Regions from separate parts of the Homo sapiens genome. Here region 1 is linked to region 2. Evidence: promoter capture Hi-C in 16 types of primary human blood cells and fetal thymus (Javierre and others, 2016). All regions are on one chromosome and are shown on one strand. Each heading gives the region's core, a stretch centred on a gene start or on the middle of the fragment in contact. The rest is flanking DNA. Distances are from core to core; before and after follow the strand shown.

The links. The method cuts DNA at HindIII sites, captures the fragments that hold promoters and counts their contacts. A CHiCAGO score of 5 or more calls a contact.
Region 1: a fragment that was not itself captured here is called in contact with the fragment with the promoter of PTGFRN in region 2 in 11 of 17 cell types (M2 macrophages, naive CD4 T cells, non-activated CD4 T cells and 8 more); the score reaches 12.8 in M2 macrophages.

The regions. Positions count from the first base shown.
Region 1 is chr1:117,053,389-117,056,788 of GRCh38, reverse strand. The region is part of intron 1 of CD101-AS1 (CD101 antisense RNA 1); the gene reads left to right. Among named protein-coding and RNA genes, the nearest start is that of CD101-AS1, 4.4 kb to the left of the region's middle. The HindIII fragment of the contact is 6,290 bases long and covers 1-3,400 here.
Region 2 is chr1:116,908,548-116,912,230 of GRCh38, reverse strand. PTGFRN (prostaglandin F2 receptor inhibitor) reads right to left here and starts at 2,315. Exons shown (of 9, transcript NM_020440.4): 1 at 1,979-2,315. The coding sequence starts at 2,027. The HindIII fragment of the contact is 4,060 bases long and covers 646-3,683 here.

The DNA of each region.
Region 1 (3,400 bases), core at 845-3,344, 140 kb before region 2:
AAGTGCTGAAATTACAGGTGTGAGCCAACACACCCAGGAACAAGTCCAACCCCACAAAAGTGGAGCTTAATTCCTAGGAAAATGAAAGAATTATACTTTCTGTGGTCAGCATTGTGCTGGCTGGCATACATTAAACATGTCAGACCTCCATAAGATACCAGTGGTGAGAGGATGAGCTAGAACATTCACCTTTTGACATCTCGGTCACTACCTTATTGTTTTAAAATAATCAGCAATTCCAAGTTTCAAGTGATTTGTAAAATTCTAGCGGCTATGCTTTATTGATTATTTTTTAAATTAAATTGTTCAAATTTATGTTTCAAATGAGCAGATCATTCTAAGAATCATATTTACTTTTCTGAACTTCTGGTGTTTTTGCTTGTTGCTTTGGGATAGGATGGGAAGGAGTAATTTTAATTGGCAGATAAAAGATTGTTCCCTATTAGGCACATTCTGAGAGGGAAAGTCATATTCTAACTTTTCCTGAGGTGTGTTCTGAGATAGTACTTTTATATGCATTGTCACATTTAATTGTCACAACTAGCCTAGGGATGGGATTTTTTATCCCCATTTTTAAGATGAAGATACTAAAGTTTAGAGCAGTTAAGGAGGTGGCCCCAAGGCCAACTTACCTTACAGAGCTGCTCCTAAAACTTTGGAACCGGATAGTCCCCATGGATTAATTTTGACCTGGCTCAAAGTCACAAAGCTGACAGCAGCCAATCAGGGACTAAAGGCCATTTTTCAGAACTTTCAATCCAGTTCTTGCCACTATAGTATTTTTTCTTCTTCTTCTTCTTCTTTTTTTTTTTGAGACGGAGTCTCGCTCTGTCGCCCAGGCTGGAGTGCAGTGGCGTGATCTCGGCTCACTGCAACCTCCACTTCCCAGGTTTAAGCAATTCTCCTGCCTCAGCCTCCCAAGTAGCTGGGATTACAGGCACCCACCACCACGCCCAGCAATTTTGTGTATTTTTAGTAGAGATGGGGTTTCGCCATGTTGGCCAGGCTGGTCTCGAACTCCTGAGACCTCAGGTGATCCACCTGCCTCGGCCTCCCAAAGTGCTGGGATTACAGGCCTGAGCCACTGCGCCCAGCCTATAGTATTTTTATAAAGCATAAATTATTCAGCAATGCATTCAGATATTTAACCCACACATCGGTAAGTGTTTAGGTATTTGCTGTGGTGTAGAGACATGGCTCAACAAATCCAAGACAAAAACCAAAAACCCAAGTCCTGCCATTTTATAAATGACCACTAGGTAGCAGCCTAGTAACATAAAAACCAAACTGAGGCCCACCCTCCTCTGTTTCATTCTTTTTGTTTGAAGATATATAATGGTAATTCAATTTCATTTCATTTCATTTTGTGCCTTTCAAACATATGACTGTTTTCAACTTGTCCTTTGACATAGGCTCGATCAGGATGATACTATAGTGAGAACAAATGTGGTTATAATTTGTAAAGCCAAGAGACTTTACAAATTATTTTGTTATACCAATATTTTTTCAGTACTAGATTCCAAATTTCACTGTTCTTAAAATATTATTCCAAAAGTGGTTCAATGCAGGCTCTTTATCTTCTTCTTTTTTTTTTTTTTTTTTTTTGGTAAATGTACAGGTATTTTTTTCAGTTGGAGTCTTGTCTGTTACCCAGGCTGGAGTGGAGTGCAATGGTAGGATCTTGGCTCACTGCAACCTCCGCCTCCTGGGTTCAAGTGATTCTCCTGCCTCAGCCTCCTGAGTAGCTGGGATTATAGGCTTGTGCCACCACGCTCAGCTAATTTTTGTATTTTTAGTAGAGATGGGGTTTCACCATGTTGTCCAGGCTGGTCTTGAACTCCTGAACTCAGGTGATCCACTCGCCTCGACCCCCCAAAGTGCTGGGATTACAGGCTTGAGCCATCGCGCCCGGCCACAATTCTTTTTTTTTTTTTTTTGAGACAGAGTCTCACTCTGTTGCCAGGCTGGAGTACAGTGGCATGATCTTGGCTCACTGTAACCTCTGCCTCCTGGGTTCAAGTGACTCTCCTGCCTCAGCCTCCCGAGTAGCTGGGATTACAGGTGCCCGCCACCACGCCTGGCCAATTTTTGTATTTTTAGTAGAGATGGGGTTTCACCCTGTTGGCCAGGCTGGTCTCGAACTCCTGAACTCAGGTGATCCACCCGCCTCGGCCTCCCAAAGTGCTGGGATTACAGGCATGAGCCATCACACCTGGCCCACAATTCATTGTTTAAGTAAATTTATAAAGTTGTGCCATCACCACCAGAATCCAGTTTTAAAACATTTCTATCACTCAAAAACTTTCCTCAAAGCTGTGTGCAGTCAATCCCAACTGCCACCCCCAGCTAGTCCCAAGGCAACCTCTGATATGCTTTCTGTCTTTATAAGTTTGCCTTTTCTGGACATTTCATATAATGGAGTCATGTAATATGTAGTCTCTTGCCTCTGTCTTCTTTCACTTACATAATGCTTGTGAGGTTTACCCATGTTGCACATGTATCAGTATTTCACTCCTTTTTATTGCTGAGTAATATTCCATTGTGTTCATTCACCAGTTGGTGGACATTTGGATCATTTTCCCTTTGGAATTATTAGGAATAATATTGCTATGAACATTAATGTTAAAGTCTGTTTTATTGTTTTTGTTTTTGTTTTTTTGTTTTTTGTTGTTGTTGTTTTTGAGATGGAGTCTTGCTCTGTCACCCAAGCTGGAGTGCAGTGGCATGATCTTGGCTCACTGCAACCTCCAGCTCCCAGGTTCAAGCAATTCTCCTGCCTCAGCCTCCCGAGTAGCTGGGATTATAGGCTCGAGCCACCACGTAAGCTAATTTTTATATTTTTAGTAGGGACAGGGTTTCACCATGTTGGCCAAGCTGGTCTCAAACTCCTGACCTCAGGTAATCTATCTGCCTCAGCCTCCCTAAGTACTGGGATTACAGGCATGAGCCACCGCACCCGGCCTAACGTTAAAGTCTTTATATGAACATTTGTTCTCATTTCTCTTGGGCAGATAAACCTGTGAGTGGAATTGCTAGTTCATATGGTTAGTTTGTTTAACTTTTTAAGAAATTGCCAAACCACTTTCCAAAGTGGCTATACCATTTTATATTTCCACCAGCAACGTATGAGGGTTCCCAGTTCTTCATGTCCTCAACAATGCTTGTTATTGCGTGCCTTTTTTAGTAGGTATGAAGTGGTATCTGACTTTTGTTTGAATTTTGATTTTTCTATTGATGTGGCACTCTTTTTCGTGTGCTTTTTAGCCATCATCTTCCTCTTTTTAAATGGTCTTGAAAGTCTTTTTCCTTTAACGTTTGTATGGAACTTAAACCTAAGTTAAAATGACATTAATTGTTATTAATACAAAGACATAAAAAGACATAGTAATCATTTGTATAA
Region 2 (3,683 bases), core at 1,066-3,565:
TGTAATTCATAGGAGGCATCCAGCCAGGACAGGATATGCTGGAGTACAATCAAGATTTCCCCAAGCTGTGCTTTCCCCACTTCTATTTTGTTTTTGTCAGTCTCTCTTTGCCCCCTCCCCTCTTCTCCCTTCATTATTACTCAAGGGCATTGTTTTCAAAGTTCTACCTCATCCCACCCTCATAACTGGTACCCAGGTTGTTCAGAGAACTGCACAGCTCTAGGGGGAGTTATTCACACAGACTACAAAGTGAACAGCAGCTCCCGAAGTTGTACAGTGCACCATCTGTGCAAACCTAGGCCATGGCCCTGCTTGACCCAGACACATAAAGTCAATTAATGTGTGTGGACTATAACAGCAGTGCGCCACTAACATACAACTTACAAGGGTCCCAGAGTGAAAAGTAAAGATTAAAAGCACTACCACCGGGTGTGGTGGAGCATGCCTGTAATTCCAGCACTTCAGGAGACTGAGGTGGGAGAATGACTTGAGCCCAGGAGTTTGAGGCTTCAGTGAGCTGTGGTTGTGCCATTGCACTCCAGACTGGGTGAAAGACTGAGGCTTTGTTTCAAAAATAAAAATAAAGCACTAGGATCAGGGACTATAGAAAAGATGCCATAAAACTAAGTGGAAGATCTGGAAGCTTTCTGCACATGGGCTGAAGCTGAAGCAATGTGGCTGGACGAGCTCTCTGAGGGAGTCAGTTCAGAAAATCCCTTCAAGGTGAAGGAAGAAAACACAGCAGCCAGCAAGGCTGGTTCATCAGCAGCAGGAGTCATGGGGGTTACAGCAGTGTGGGCCCCGGTGTCCCCAGCAGGGGAGTAGCTATAGAAGGCCTCCTCTGGAACCCTCTGACCATAAGTGCAGAGTAATCATTTGCCCTGTGTGCAGCTGGGACCTGAATGGCACGGACACCGCACATCATGCGCTCTGTGAAAGACTCAGAGCCGCCTTCTCTAGGGGCTTGGAAGAGAACCCCAGGCCAGGTCACAGGAATCATCTTGTCCTGGTTGACACTGACAACAAGGATCCAAGAATATCAAAACATTTAAGAGTCGGCCCTGGGGTACCATGGTGGGCACTTAATAAACATATTTCCGTGGCTGGCTAGGATCACCATGTGGATCTACGTGAAGATGGTGTCTGTGTATGGAGTGAATGGAAAATGGAGAGGGAAAAAACCCACAAAAGATTCCTTGGGTGGGGGGAGGGCGCTGGGCCAAAACCTCACGGGGCACCCAGGGTTTCCGGAGGGTGGAAGACGAGGGGATAGTAAGGGAGGGAAAGTAACAGGTAGAAAAAGTTGGAGAAGCCAGGCTTTTAGGTCTTTGTGTATAAATACGCAGCTAGGCAGCTTCAAGAAAAGCTAAAAGAAAAGACTGAGGCAGAAGATCTAGCCACGACGAAAATGACGGCAGGACTCGCCCGCCGATTTCCATTGTAACGCTCCGGGCCACCCTGTGACCTTCGTGGAAGGAAGTTGGAGGATTCTCTCGCTTCCCTGGAAAGGCAACTCCGCGCGGGTTGGGTGAAGAGCGACCCGGCCGGCGGCGGCTATGGCGGGGCATATCAAAGGCTCACATTTCCGCTCTCGAGCCGAGGACCCGGGCCGGGACCGCAGCACCTTCCGGGCCGGGAGTTCAAGGTGAGCCGGGCTCCCGGCGGCCAACAGGTAGGGAGACCTGGGGGAAAGACGGCCCCGGGCCACTCCCCCCGGCACATGTTGGGGGCGAGGCTCGGCCTGGCGGAGCGGCCACTTGCACCCCGCGCGCGGGGCCCGAGCGGATTCGCGCCAGGCTCCGGGCGGCCCCGCGGCCGCTCCCCGCCGGGCCGAACAACCCGCGCACCCCGGCCGGGTTTCCCGGGAGCAGCCCGGGCACCCTCGGCGCCCCAGGCCGCGCGCTGCAGCCGCGCCCCGCCGAGCCCTCCAGGGCCTCGCCAGTCCCCGTGTGCCCCGCTGAGCCCCGCGCACACTCACCCAACGACAGGAGCGCCAGCAGCAGCGGCCTCGAGGCCAGGCGCCCCATGCTCGCCCGGCGGGAGCGACTCTCCCCCTCCTCCTCCTTCCCCGCCGCCTCTCCTCCTCCTCCTCTTCCAGCTCCGGCTGCTCCAGAGTCGGCGCTCCTCCGCCTGGGCCGCGCGCCTGCTCCGCTCTCCTCGCGAGCCGATAAATCCCAGCGCTGGGGCGTACGTGCGCCCCTGGCTCCGCTCGCTCCCTCCCGCCTCCTTCCCTCCCTCCTCCAGCCGGCCGGGCCCGGGAGCCGGCCCCGCCGATCCGAGTGTGCAGCCCCGACCGCTTCCCGAAAGCAGAAGGGAAGAACCGCAGCGCCCGCCCGCGCCTCCCATCCGGCGCTTTGCCAGCAACAAACACAAACTTTCCCAAGCCCCTCCCCGCTCCAGGTAACGGAGGAAGAGCCGGGGCCACCCGCTTAAAGGCGAGGAGGCGTCGGAGCCCACCCTGCCATCCCCTCTGGGCCCCCACCCCACGAGAAACTTTCCTCCGACCTTTAAAAGTTGGCCTGGGAAAGACTCGTCTGGAAATCCCATCGCTTTAGCCCTATCCCGGGACACCCCGCGTTCCATCACGCTGGAGTCACCCACGCGTGTCTAGTCTATCCTCAGCCAACTCCCCGCTCGTTCGGCCTCTCGTCCTGAGCTAAACACCCCACCAACCAGCCGCTTGGCCTATGCCAAAAATTATGCAGATAGGAGCGAAGGAGCTGAAAGGACTTTTAAAGGCCACGGATTCCAACCTCTACCATACAGAGGCCTTAAGTGTTTCGGTGAGGTGCCCAAGGATTCACAGGGAAGGGGCAAAATCAGAACCCCGCTCTCCTGACTCTGCCCACTCCCCGGTGGCTAGGGTGGGCCTGTCTCCTTCCTTACCCAGCTCCCTCCCTCTCCTCGGCGCCTGTGGCACTGATTAGAACAGCACCCCACAAAGACACCCATTTAAAAAACAAACAAAACCCAAGTGTATTAATAGCTATAGTACTTCATATAGAATGTACTCTTAAGACTTAATATTTATTGCTCTAAGTGGACACCACTGATTGCCAATAAAGACTCATTTTTCCCCCTACAATAGAGTTTTGTGCTTTTGATTTGAATACAAAAGGCCCGACTTGGTTGGGAGAAATGGAGCATTCCTTGCTTGAAACTTAGCAAGCATGATTCAAACACGCAAGGAGCAGCACTGGTGCCCACTGCCCGTCACTGGGCTTTCATTCACATGCAAAACGGATCGCAGATGCTTATGCGGAAACTGCCCACACTGGGGAAGAACACTGCTTTTACTCTCATGCATCCGTCTTTCAACCAACAAATGTTTCTTATTTCCCCACTATCAAATGTGTGATTAGCCAGGTATCTTTGGAAAGAGACTTAAAAATTCATTCCTGGTGGTGCAACGTTATTGTACTTAATGCCACTGAATGGTACACTTAGAAATGTTTAAAATTGCCAGGCCTGGTAACTGGTACTTGTAATGCTAGCTACTCAGAAGGCTGAGGTTGGGGGGGCAGGGGGAGGCGGGGGGCAGGGATGGTGTTGCTTGAGGCCAGGAGTTTTTATTTGTTTTGTCTTCTTTCTTTCTTTCATTTTTGAGACAGGGTCTCAAAATGAGGATCTGTCACCCAGGCCGGAGTGCAGTGGTGCGATCAGGGATCACTGCTGCCTTGACC